Linked DNA regions of Homo sapiens: all the other regions are linked to region 2. Evidence: promoter capture Hi-C in 16 types of primary human blood cells and fetal thymus (Javierre and others, 2016). All regions are on one chromosome and are shown on one strand. Each heading gives the region's core, a stretch centred on a gene start or on the middle of the fragment in contact. The rest is flanking DNA. Distances are from core to core; before and after follow the strand shown.

The links. Contacts are between HindIII fragments. The CHiCAGO score rates a contact against its expected background, and 5 or more counts as called.
Region 1: a contact is called between a fragment that was not itself captured here and the fragment with the promoter of SMIM34 in region 2, in 5 of 17 cell types (M2 macrophages, endothelial precursors, M0 macrophages and 2 more). The highest score is 7.7, in M2 macrophages.
Region 3: a fragment that was not itself captured here is called in contact with the fragment with the promoter of SMIM34 in region 2 in 4 of 17 cell types (M0 macrophages, naive B cells, M2 macrophages and 1 more); the score reaches 7.3 in M0 macrophages.

Annotation. Positions count from the first base shown.
Region 1 is chr21:34,593,338-34,598,181 of GRCh38, reverse strand. The region is part of intron 1 of RCAN1 (regulator of calcineurin 1); the gene reads left to right. Among named protein-coding and RNA genes, the nearest start is that of RCAN1, 19 kb to the left of the region's middle. The HindIII fragment of the contact is 8,670 bases long and covers 1-4,844 here.
Region 2 is chr21:34,421,094-34,425,441 of GRCh38, reverse strand. It overlaps SMIM34 (small integral membrane protein 34), which reads left to right and starts at 1,491. Exons shown (of 2, transcript NM_001367348.2): 1 at 1,491-1,609. The coding sequence starts at 1,603. LOC105372793 (salivary glue protein Sgs-3) reads right to left here. Exons shown (of 6, transcript XR_001755015.2): 6 at 1-3,402. The HindIII fragment of the contact is 10,576 bases long and covers 1-4,348 here.
Region 3 is chr21:34,645,564-34,649,917 of GRCh38, reverse strand. No RefSeq gene overlaps it. Among named protein-coding and RNA genes, the nearest start is that of CLIC6, 21 kb to the left of the region's middle. The HindIII fragment of the contact is 3,295 bases long and covers 1,403-4,354 here.

The sequences.
Region 1 (4,844 bases), core at 203-2,702, 170 kb before region 2:
CCTTACAAGAATGAAAACGAAAATGGAACATCCAAACCTGTTAATATTTTGAGTGAGATTGCTTTGGGTTTATAGTTACTTAGGGAGAGTTGACGTCTTTACATCCTAGGTTCCTGTGGTGTTATTCTACTTATGTAAGCCATCTTTTCTCTACTCAGTACAGGGTGGAAGTTTTCTTTATATAGACCCTATCTATTTCTTTAATTTGTATTTATGTTTTAGATTCTTCAATATGAACATTTTTATGTAAATTTAAGAAATTATTTAAAAATGGGATTTTTAAATTACACTTATTTTTACCTCTATATAGAGAAGATTATTGTTTCTGTGTATTAATTTTGTAACCAACCACCTGTGCTAAAGCCTTTGACTATTTCTAATAGTTGATTCTTTTGCATTTTCTAGGTATAAAATCGTATCACCTGCAAATAATGATGATTTTTCCATCTTGTTTATAATACTTCAAATTGTATTTCAACATTATAGAGGCAGCAGATGGGTATTCTCATCTTATGGAAACACGCTAGTCTTTCACCACTGACCATAGCTTGGGTGTGGCAATATGGTATTTTATCTCACCTTCAGGTATCTTGATGACTTTCCCTGTTACAGACCTAGTTACCCCAACAGACACATCTAGCTTTCTTTCATTACTTTTACATAGGCTCCAAGCTGACACACAATTCTTCTTTAAAGAAGCAGCTTCCCGAACGTTCTGTGAGCCACATCTCCATCTGCACACTCTCGATGCTGCCCTGTGGAGGACTCCCTAGGGTGGTGGGAGTGTCCTGTATCCGCACTGTCCACTGCAGTAACCACTGGCCACTTGTGGCCACTGAGTGCTTGAAATGTGGTGGACATGACTGAGGAACTGAACTTTTAATTTTTTTCATTTTAATTAATTTTCATTTAAATTGTCATGTTATTGAGCACTTAAAATGTAGCTAGTACTACCGAGGAGTGTTTACTTTTGCTAATTTTCATTGACATAGCCCCATGTGGCTGGTAGCTGCAGAACTGGGCTGCACGGGTTCCTCGCTCATTCATGGAAGGGTAAGATATGAATGCTAGAAAGGCCCTGGTGGCCACTCATTGTGCCCAGAGATGCTGAGATTGGGCCCACATCACACAGCAAGTTCATGACGAAACTGAGACTGGGAGCCCAGGATTCTTACTCTCTGTCTCAAGCTGGTGTCACTGTCCAACCCCTTCTTTACTCCTCCCCTCCCATTTCCCTTCTGTAAGTTATCACCGAAGTCCCAGTGTGTGCAGACCAACGCACAGCACAGTGAGCAGGCCCGAGCCTCGCAGACACCTTCCCTAGTGTGGGTCCAGCCAAGGGCTGTGCAGTTGTTGAGTTTTCAGCCGAGCTCCTTCACTCCACAGTGCAAAGGTTCTCGCAAGATAAAGGCAGGGAGGCAAAGTCCTCGGCCCTTTGTCGAGGTGGAAAGCACCCTGAGGTACTGTGTTGGTGTTCCAACATCATCAGGAAATGCCCATCCCGGTTCGAATGTATTTTCCAGTGCTTCTAAAAGAAGACTTTCTGCATCTTCTGCATGGCAGCGGGGGTTGCTCCTGTCCCTGAGACGGCTCTAAACCTTACGAGAACCCAGCCTGCCGTGGTCAGGGAGTGGAGAGAATATAGAAAGCAGAGCCTTCGAGAAGGCCCTCAGCTGAGGCTCCAGTGGGCAAGGAGGCTTTCTCGGTCATGCAGGAGCCACAGCCCTGCTTGCACTTCGAGTTTTTTCTACTTTAGCCAACTCTTTCTCTCTTTCCCCAGTGAGGGGGTTCCCTGCATCAGTCCCTGGGCCCCTGTGGGTCTCCTCAGCCTTCCCTCCCAGTCGTTCATTCAAAAGAAGCAGGAGGGAACCACGCTACAGAGACTCTCGGCTTTTTCTGGAGGGCAGGAAGGCCTCCGCTTATACTGGAGGTCACCTGTTGGAGCTTAGAGGTTAAGAAGGCCGGGCACTTGAGCTTCTTCCTGGCACTGCTGCTCCCTGGTAGCATGGACATGGGTGCTTCAGTTTGCCCACTTGTAGGATGGGGCTCATAATAGCCACCTCACAGGGCTCCGGGGATGGGGACGTGAGTCCACAGACAGAAAGTGCCGAGAGTCCACTCTCCACAGATGTCAGCACTGATCCACACTAAGATGTCTTCTCTACCTGCTTCAAGGGCAGGTGACCTCCAGGAAGGGCCCCCTCTGCTCCTCGGCCAGAATCCTTGAGGCAGGCTTATCTGGGGAGCTTGGCCTGCATCTGCGTAGATGGACTGTGTGGGGGACCCCCAGACTCCCCTTTTCACACGTATGTCCCACCCCTGCCGGGGGGTGGTCAGCTTGTCTGACACCACAGGTCCCCAGCTCCTTGAGGCAGCCTGTCCGGCCTGCCCAGTGGCCCCCATCAGAGCCATCCAGGCAGCGTGTGAGTGGGTGTTGGGAGCAGTGCCCTTCCAGTGGCCGGCGAAGGCAGTGTGCATGCCTGAATCTGCTGCCAGTTGAGAAGTCAGCTCCTCAGGTGGGACAAGGACCCTGGCCTTCCTGGGAACCTGAGCAGATTGCGCAGTTTCCTTTTCTCAGCACGGCTCCTGCACTGGCTTACGTAACAGCAACAACCTGCAGAGCCTGGGCTCCGGGGCTCATTCCCAGACAGTGAAGTCTATGATGAATAGATGGGTCTGTACACTCTTAGCAGAGAGCCAGTAATTTGCTCAAAGGTCAAACTTAGCTTGATTCAGAACACAAAATTACTAGGATTCTATTCTTTCTGCGGGTGTTGCTTCTGTATTTTTCATGGTCAAGGAAAAGCTGTGAAGCACTTTCTTAGGGCTTAAGAGCTAAGGGATTTTTCCTCCTTTTTTGATGACCCTCTTTTCCAGCATCTCAGCACACCCCCAGATGGGAAGAGGCTATGATGAATTTCTCCCACCATTTATGCCACACCCACTCTGTGCCAGTTACTAGAGCAAGTGGTTTCCAGGTGTGTGTGTAAGGAAATGCTCTTAGTGCATTTGTTCTGTGTCAGGCACTGTTTTCCATAGTGTTTGTCCAGTGCCAGGTGCTGCTGTAAGTATGGCACTGCCTAGAAGTGTGAATGCATTTCATCCTCACATAAACCCTGTGAAGCAGATACTATGACTGTCCCCATTTTATGGATGGAGTCACTGAGGCATCTGGAGGTGAAGTAACTTGCCCATGTTGCACAGCTAAGTTGGAGGAGGGGGCAAGGTTTGAACCCAGGCCATCTTATTCCAGAGTTAGCATTCTTAACCACTACCCATGCTGCCTGTCCACCCTGGTCCCCCATTTCGTTTGCCACCCAGGATCCCTGTGAGGTATGCGCTTGTTACGATTCCATTTTACAGTGAAGACACGGAGGCCTGGCGAGTTTGTATGGGGGCCAGTGCCTGCTTGGGATTCCGATGCAACACCTGCAGGTCTGACTCCTAACACTGATCTCTGCTGTGCACCTGGCCCATTGGTCATTGTTATTTCTGAGCACCTGGACTGTGCCTTATTCAGTGCTCCTCACATTACGACTGTCAAATGCAAGTAACTGACTTAGGGGCCTGAGGGTCCCCTAAATGGGTACCTTGCCACCCTTCGTTTTGTTGTTGTTGTTGTTCTTGTTTTGAGATGGAGTCTCCCTCTGTTGCCAGGCTGGAGTGCAGTGGCGCGATCTTGGCTCAATGCAACCTCCGCCTCCTGGGTTCAAGCGATTCTCCTGTCCCAACCTCTGGAGTAACTGGGAGTACAGGCATGTGCTACCACACCCAGCTAATGCTTGTATTTTTAGTAGAGGTGGGGTTTCACCATGTTGGCCAGGATGGTCTCAATCTCTTGACCCCGTGATCCACCCACTTCGGCCTCCCAGAGTGCTGGGATTACAGGCATGAGCCACCGCGCCCGGCCCACCCTTCTTTTGTGAAACATTCTCATTTTTTTCAGCTATGTCCCTGACTACAGATTATTACATATTTCCATGTGCTTGTTTACTGGTTCTGTTTCCTCCTGTGAATTGACTGTTCATATCCTTTGCCCATTCAGCTCTCAGATTGTTTATTTTACGCAGATCTGCTTTCTAACTCAAGGGTCACGACAGGAACTCCTCTAATATAATCCATCATCATGTAACATTTTTGTCCCCTTTCTGTTTTGCAACAACTCTGAAAATAATGACTTGCCTATACTGCTAAATAAGAGGGTAAGAATCCATGCCCCACGCCTCCAGCCCCAGAATAAAAAACAAGTGGAAACTAACGATTTTTTTCTTACACGTATTATAGAATTTCTAAGTCTGTCTGGAGCAGTGGGCACCCAGGCATAGACCACTTCTTTAGACTGAGCACCTGCTCTTTGAGGGCAGGGACTGTACCTGGTTCCATTTTCCAGATATTTTTCCACTTGTTTATTTCCTAAACCTTTTTCCTACTCCGGAAACCATGCATATCCTTTCCCCATGCATCAGCTGGCCCAGCAGCCACAGCCTCAGCCCGACCTCCCAACACCTTGAGGTCCAGCTTCTCAGTCTCTGGCAGGCTGGCACGTCTGCTATCAGCAGGCACAGGTGTTCCGAGCCAGGCTGCCCCATGCCCCCTTCTGTGACTAAGAGACAGGCCAAGTGGGTCCATGCATAAGAGCTCTTCAGTAAATGCAAAAGGTGGCAGGTGTGCTAGCCTTATTTGGCATCGTTTCATAATGTTGTGAAAGGGTGGCACTTCTGCCTGTGTCATATAAGCCAAGTCTTTTTCATAAAGATGTAATGATTTGATAATTGGTAATGATGTATTGAGAAGGTTGGAGGAGGATGAGCCTTGCATATGGTGAGAACAGTTGTGCCTATTCT
Region 2 (4,348 bases), core at 242-2,741:
GGTCTCGAACTCCCAACCTCAGGGGATCCACCCACCTCGGCCTCCCAAAGTGCTGGGATTACAGGTGTGAGCCACTGCACCCAGCTTGTATATTATAATTTTTAACAGTTTTATTGAAATATAATTCATATACCATAAAATTCATCCATTTAAAGTATGCATTCAATTTTTTTGTATATTCACAGATTGTGTACAGTGAGCACCACAATTTTAGAAGTTTTATTACCCCTCCAAAAATGCTATATACCCTTAGTTATCACCCCCAATCCCTCCCGCTAGTGAACCACTAATCTATTTTCTATCTTTGTAGATTTGCCTATTCTTGGCATTTCATATAAATGAAATCCTACAATATGTAGTCCTTTGTGACTGACTTCTTTTATTTAGCACAATGTTTGCAAGTTTCATCCGTGTTATGGCATATATCAGTACTTCATTCCTGTTTATTGCTGAATAACATTCCATTGTATGGATAAACCACATTTTATTTATTCATTAGTCAGTTGTTGGATATTTGGGTTGTTTCCATTTTTTGCTATTACAGATAATGCTGCTTTGAACATGTGTGTTCAAGTTTTTGTGTAAACTTACATTTTTATTTCTCCTGGGAAGATACCCAGGAGTAGAATTGCTGGATCATATGGCTTATTTTATAACTTACTTACCCAGTACCCCATTGATGGAAATTTCATCAAATTGTATCTTAAAAACCAGCAACCATCACAAACGTGGCAAGTTAGAGTCCTAGAGTGAGGATTAGGAAGAAATGGAACTGGAAACAATGGCTGGATGATTTAACTTGCCAGTCTTCCAACTTTTCCCTCCCTGCTCCTGGGGAAACTTTACCCGCAGACACTTACTCTAACACTTTCCAATTAAGCCTACCTCAACTCCAATGGGGTCTGTGACTCTGGGAAAGAGAAGAGCCATTTCTCACCACCTGGCACAGGAGTCCACTGCCCACTGACCCCTCAGGGAAAGCCCAAGTCCCCTCAGGTGTGTCACCCTTGGGGTGTCACTCCCTTCCTGTCTGGGTTTCCTCATCTGGGAGACTGTCCAGAGGAAGCTGGTGACTCTTGACCATGGAGTTTCCTGGCCCTATGATGACAGATCTCTGCCACACCTGGCCATCTGCCACACCTGCAACAGGTGCAGAACACAGGGGAATTCAATAGCCATCCAAGCTCTAAGCGGAGAGCCAGCCTCAGGGGGAGCTTCTGGCCACCTCAGTTCATGATGGGACCTGAGAGATGGAGATTCCTTAATACCAGCACGTTTTAAAAATTTGTTTTGATTGAGAACTTCTTAACAAGTCAAAGCTGGGAAGTGCTTTCTGTTCTGATGCAACAGAAGACACAGCAAATCGGATCCTCTGATTAATTGCATGAAAGCAAAGTCATCCACTTACTAAGTTTCTGTTTGGTGCTGCCCTAAGATTGTTGGAAGATCATATTACTCCCCACTCTGGAAACTCAGTGCAGCTCAACTGCAGTAGGACTGATTCTTCCCTAGGAGACGGAGTTCTCCTTTCATCATCTTCCCCTTCTGTGCATGGTAGCCGCTTGAACTTGCCCCTCCAAGAGTCAAGGACAAGACCACCCCATGGAATGTGAGTACTCAGCTACAATGCAAGGATGGGCAGGTTGAGATTTTACATATTTCACGTCATTAAATTACAAGTACAAAATAGCACAGAGGAAAAAGTTTCTCTCTTCTACAGGATATGTTTGTCCATTAAGATACAACCTAACTTACTTTTACCTTTGTAAGAAAGGTAAAATGTAATGTATTGCAGTAATTAATATAGTGAGTTTCTTTCGTGTAGAAAATGGACTGGTTTTTAAATAATTTAATGTTCTGTGTGTAGCTCTTAGTTGGGGATATTTTATTTGTATTTGAATGTGTTGCATCATTCTATGACAATTTCTAGAAAGTTCTATGAGTTTATACATGTGTTCTGAGTTTCAATAAGTTCTCTTGCCCTAATATAAGGATATTGTGTTCTTGTTGGGTTGATTTGCTGTCTGTTTGTTTGTTGCAATAATTACGGGAATTTTTCACCTTCCTTACTTTAATGTCTCAAACCATTCTACCAAACAATGGTGTAAATTTATGCTTGTGGTGTTGTTTCTTGCGAGTGACTAATTTTATGTAATTAAATCTGTTCATTTGTCCTGGGCTTTGTCACATGTAGTTTGAAAAGTAATTTTTAAATAGTTTCTTCCTTCATCTAAAAGTAATAAGCTCATTCACACATTCTGGCAACTAACTATAATAAAAAATACTGGCCTCTCTGAGTCTTGCGTTCGCAAAATGAATTAGCAACAAACAACGATCAAATGGGAAGCATTTTGGAGCACCTTTGTTCTGCACAGCAGGCTGCAAGATTGATCCTATGATGTGTTTTTAAATACATCTGTGTTCACATTAGAGCAAGAAATGGGGGTTTGAGCCAGTAAGGCCCCACTGGGAAATGTCTCACAGGATTGCACTCTACAGCTCTGGTTTTCATTGTTTCATTTTCTCCACCAGCTCTCCAAGCAGAGAAAACAGTTTTGAATTGAACAGCAATTGAGATCTTAATCTTCTGGTCTTACAAGGGCATACAACGGCTTTACCCAGGGGCACCTCACCAGGGAGACCAGAAAAGTACCAACTGGTACACTCTTGCTTTTCAAAAATAAGTATACACGGTACTAAGTGTACAAAAGGGCAAACAGTAAAAAATATATCTTCTTCCCCCAGGTTTCTTCCCCAGAGGCAATTGCAGATACTAATTTCTTATTCATTCTTCCAGAGATGTTCTATACATAAAAAAAGTACAAGCAAATAACATATAACTTCCCCCTTCTTTACAAGTGGCATTGCAGAGCATGTCACCATTAGCTTATTTTTTCACTTATTAACATTCAGTACCATAAAAAACTCATTGCTTTTTATGACTGTGTAGTACTCCACTGCATGGAGGTTCCAAAATGTATTTCACCATCCCTCAGTTGGTGCTATTCAGGCTGTTCCCAGGCATTCGTCATCACAAGGAGGACTGCAATGACTAACCTTCAGCATATGTTGTCTCTAGATGTTCTGGAGCATCTTTAGGATAGATTCCTAGAGATAGAATTGCTGGGTCAAAGGTAAGTGCACTTGTAATGCTCATAGATCTTGTCCGTGTGCCCTCCATGTTGGCTGCATGAATTTACCAGCAATTATACAATTAAAATTCTCCTTGGAAAAAATGTCAAGTGTGGATATGAACATTTATTTGTTGACATTTTAAAAATGCCAATCCTAAACCCCTGAAATGCAGAGGCACTTGTTTCTTTTCTTTAAAAAAATTTTTTTTTGGTGTCAAGTCCACGTCATTGCCACCTTTGCTCCCAATTTAGACACCTTTCTTCTAAGCTGGACAAAAGAACAAAAAAAAGCCATTTTTTTGTTAGTTTATTCTGAAACATCATGAATTTGCAAGTCCAATAGGTAACAAAATGGTATCTAGTTATTATCTTAATTTGCATTTTTCTTATATGAGTGATATTGAGAAGCTCTTCTTATGTTGAATGTTCATTTTTTCCCTGTGAACTATTTGTCCATATCTTTTGCACATTTTTCTACTGCAGTTTTAAACTTTTTCTTACAGAACCGAAGGCTATTTAGAAAATCAGTGATATAAATTGCACTTTGTCATCTGCCTGTTGGTTTTATGGTATGAAATAGCTTAATTTTTTTTATGTAGTTGAATTTGATTTCTATTTCTTGTTTCTTCTGAATTTTTGTTATGCTTAAAAGAATATTCCACTCTGAGATGATAAAGAAAAAATCTGCCATGCTGTACTCTAGTACTATAAATTATTTCACTTTTTATGTTAAAATATTTGATTTATCTGGGCTGTTTTTTTTTTAATCTGGACCGATTTATCTGGTCATATGGTGGAGAGATGTGGATCTAATGCTATTTCCCCCAATGCTACATATTGAATAATTCATCTTTTCCCACCGATCAGAAATGCTCCTTTATTAGCTAGCTATCAAATTCTAATTGCTAACTATTGATGCTGTTTTTACTCTGTTTCATTGGTCTGCTTGCCTGTGTTTTCAGCACCACACTATTTTAGCTGTTGTAGTTTTATTTTTTATTTTTTTTATTTTTTAAGACAGAGTCTTGCTCTGTCACCCAGGCTGGAGTGCAGTGGCCCGATCTTGGCTCACTGCAACCTCCACCTCCTGGACTCAAGCGATTCTCCTGCCTCGGCCTCCCTAGTAGCTGGAACTACAGGCATCACACTATTTTAGCTGTTGTAGTTTTATTTTTTATTTTTTTACTTTTTAAGATAGAGTCTTGCTCTGTCTT
Region 3 (4,354 bases), core at 1,801-4,300, 220 kb before region 2:
ACAAGGATTGCCAACAAAGAGGGACAGGGGACTTTGGGGGCTTATAAAATTTTTGTGTTTCAATATATGTGAATTGTATCTTAAAATACTCTAAATGTAATCCATATGCTAGTTACCTGAGTATTCCTCATCTTCTAGCTCTCTCTCAGTCTCACCTGGCTCCCTCTGCTCTAACCACCTGCATCTGCCCCATCTCAACCCTACCTCCACCTGCTACTCTCTTCGCTCCTCCTTGTCTTAGCCCAGGTGAATGCAGCCTCTTTTCTGTGGTTTTTCTAACATACCACCTCCCAGAAGGCAGTTGGACATAGTTAGGACATAATTTATAGCCAAACCCAAACACTTCTGAAAGTGAAAGTGATTACTCTGGGGCCACAGGTGCAAACCATGAGGCTATCCTGGAAAACTAGGATCCACAGCTCCTTGCTATGGGAGATGCTCACTCAAGGTTTGGGGCCAGTGATGGGCAGCGGGTTGGGGGCTGGTCCCTGCCCATGTCATCCCGAATCCTCTCTCAGCTTGCCCGCTTGCAACCCCCAAATCCCTCTTCATTTATTGTGCAAAGCAATTTATCATCCCTCTCTCTGCTTCATTCCTCACCCTGTTTCAAAGTCCAAAAGCCCAACAAGGGGCTCATACTAGTCAGGTCTCTCCCCTGGTATGATTCTACTGTCTGCTCTTGAACCCCCAGAGACAGTAGCAGTCATAGCTAGTGGGTCATGATTATTTAATATGCTGAGCTCTTCCTGTGGATTATATCACTCCTCCCTTTTAGGCCTCTGTGAGGTAATTAAAATCACTATGCCCATTTTACAGATAAGCAGACTGACGTTCTGCAGCATCAAATAACTCTGGAAAGCAGCAGAGCTAGGAGTTCAACCGAGGTGTCTGAGACAGCAGGTGCCCAGCAGAACCCTTACATCAGGCCAACATTGCCCTTGCCTTGTTCGGGGCACGGAGCACAGGTTTGCACGGAGCCAGTGTTTGCTGTCTGCCTGCCCCCACTCCACTGGCATGATTGCATTGTTTAAACAACCAAATGAACTCAACAGCTGACAAATAACCCAGTGGTTTCCATTGTATTTGGAGCTGTGTGAGCTCAAATGATCAGTGATGAGATCTGCCAAAGTGTGAGCTCATGAACTCCGGCTCAAGAACCAGGAGAATGTTTCTCCTCCACTCATGATAACCTTGTTCAGAATTGTGAAGTTGCTTCCCCTCAAGGCATTAAAACTTAGACTTGACACCACACCAGTAATTTCTCTATGACTCCAGATCTGTGAATGCAAGCTGAAAATGTAAATGGAGAATTCAGGTATTAGTCTAACTATTCCGTGGCTAAATGTGGAGAGTTAGAAATGCCTCCCGGGCGGATTTAACTTTTCCATTTCATCCAAAAGCTTGATAGTAAGGCAAAAACACCATGGCTTTATATAACTGATGTTCCCTTCTTTTTTAATGAATTTGTTGACAAGCTGGAGGGTAGGTACTTGAAATGTGTTTTTCTCATAGAAGTGAGATTGATAAATGGTGATTAGGTGTCCAGAGACGTTCATTCATGTGAGTCCTGGGAAGAGAGGGCCGAAAGGAGAGGATGGAAAAAAGAGAGTTTCATTCTCCTTTCTTGGACCCCAAATCAATCTACCATAAATGTTTGTAAAATGAGCAAGTCTCTGGAATCTTCCCACCCACTTCTCTGAGGGCGTAATGTTATACTTGAGAATTGCAGGCTCTTGGTTTCCTCTTACACATGAGGAACTCCCAATCTGCCCAGTCTCCCTCCAATCTGCCCAGTCTCCCTCCCTTCATCATCCCATCACCTGCCATCCCTCCTGAAATCAAAATTCTTATCCTGTTACCGAGTGTAAGTTCTATGAAGAGTTTTGAAGCTAGAACAGCAAACTCTTTTATGGTGCTGACGATATGCCAGGCACTACTATAAACACATAACATACATTAGCTCATATGATTAATATAATCCTTGACGTAAATGCTAACGATGTAAAGATGTGGGATAGAGAAGGTAAGCAATTTGCCCAAGGGCACACCGTCGGGAAGTGGTAGAGCCCCACAGTGCAGAGTGTACCCAGACAGCCTGGCTCCAGCGTCTGTGAACCTAACCCCATGAACGTAACCCTTCCTAAGGCTGGGGAAGCATGTGCCTGGTTGCAAGCATTGTGCCATGTGTGCATGCATTTAGCAGTCATGCACTGGGACCTGCTGGTTGCCAGCCACTGTGCTGGGGCCAGGGACACAGGGGTCACAAGGCCATCTAGTCTATGTCCTTGTGCAGCCACATTCCTGGGGGGCTTCAGACAATTAGACAAACAATGACAACATGAGGAAGTAAATGTTCTGCATATCTAGGAGTATTTAGGAGGAGTGCCCAACTGGGACCCAGGGCCAGGCCAGGTAGATGTGGGGAGGGTTGGTCAGCTCTGAGGTACACCTGAAGGATGAATAGAGGTTTTGCTGGCCAGGAAAAAGGTGGGAGATGGCATTCCAGGCAAGGAAAGGGCATGGGAAAAACCCAGAGCAAGGAGTATGCCAGGGAAAAAAGTTGTCTCAGTGAGGATGGAGCCAAGTGTGAACAGGGACAGCAGGCAACTGAGAGGCCTGGAGAGGCAGGCAAGGACTTCCCTTGGTTCTTACCTTTTAAATTTCTTTCATTTTTAGAGACAGGGTCTCACTCTCTTGACCAGGTTGGAGGTACAGTGGTGCAATCATGGCTCACTAAAGTCTTGCACTCCTGGGTTCAAGCAATCTTCCTGCCTTAGCCTCCCGAGTAGCTGGGACTAGAGGCACAAGCCACCACTCTTGGCTAATTTTTTATTTTCTATTATTTGTAGAAATGGGGTCTCACTGTGTTGCCCACGCTGGTCTCGAACTCCTGGCCTCAAATGATCCTCCCACCTCAGCCTCCCAAGGTATTGGGATTATAGGCATGAGCTACACACCCAGCCAAGGACTGCACTTTGAAGGGCCCCACAAGCCCCATCAGAAAGTCTGGGCTTTATCCGAAGAGCATTAAGGCACCCCAAGGGGCTGCCCACTGTGGGGTGGTATGGACCGCTGTGCATGTAGAACACGCAGGAGATGAGTTAGGAGGATGCAGTAGCAGTCCCAGGGGATGAAGGTGGCCTGGATGATGCCTTGGCCCCCACTCTCTACAAATCTAATGCAACCGCTTCCTGAAATCGAATGCAACCGCTTCCTGAAAAGTGGAGGCTCCAACCTTGGGAGTCCAGGACCTGAAAATTGTGCTGGGCTCAACATCAAAGAGTAATGGAGTGGGGGGTGTTGTCTGAAAAGGGCCTGACCAACTGCGGGGCTGTGATTTTTTTCCACCAGCAATTCTCAACCAGGGGCAATGTGCCAATGTCTGGAGACATTTTTGGTTGTCACAGCATGTGGGGGAGTACTACTGGTACCATGCGACCAGCCAGTGTTGCTCAAGGCTTTCTCTTCTTTCCTTTCCCACATTCCCAGAAAGGCTACAGGGCACCACTGGCCAGAGTTGGCTGGCGGCTCAATGCTGCGAAAATAACAAAAAAAGAACTGCTTATATTTACTTAAAGAAACACTGAAAGAGTAAACAAGAAATTGATCTAAATGGTTATGTAGGGGAAAGTGTGAGGGTGGGAATGATTCAACTCTGTGAATACTTTTGTAGAGTGTTTTTGACTTTTGATTCCTGTGCACTGATTACCAATTCAAAAATAATATTATTTTTAGCCGGGCGAAGTGGCTCACGCCTGTAATCCCTGCACTTTGGGAGGCCAAGACAGGTGGATCACCTGAGGTCAGGAGTTCAAGACCAGCCTGGCCAAAATGGTGAAACCTTGTCTCTACTAAAAATACAAAAATTAGCGAGGCATGGTGGCACTCGCCTATAATCCCAGCTACTCAGGAGACAGGCAGGAGAATCACTTGAACCCAGGAGGTGGAGTTTGCAGTGAGTCAAGACCACACCACTGAACTCCAGCCTGGGTGACAGAGTGAGAGATTCTGTCTTAAAATAATAATAATAATAAAGAAAGAAAAAATGTTTTTTTTAAAGAGATTAGCAATTCAGATTTCCAAACGTTAATCCCTTCTGGCCTTTATTTGTAAACTCTGGGTTTTTTTTTTCTTTTTTTTTTTTGAGACAGAGTCTCTCTCCGTCATCAGGATGAAGTGCAGTGGCGCCATCTTGGCTCACTGCAACCTCTGCCTTCTGGGTTCAAATGATTCTCTTGCCTCAGCCTCCCGGGTAGCTGGGATTGCAGGTGTGCACCACCACACCCAACTAATTTTTGTATTTTTAGTAGAGACGAAGTTTCACCATGTTGGCCAGGATGGTCTCGATCTCTTG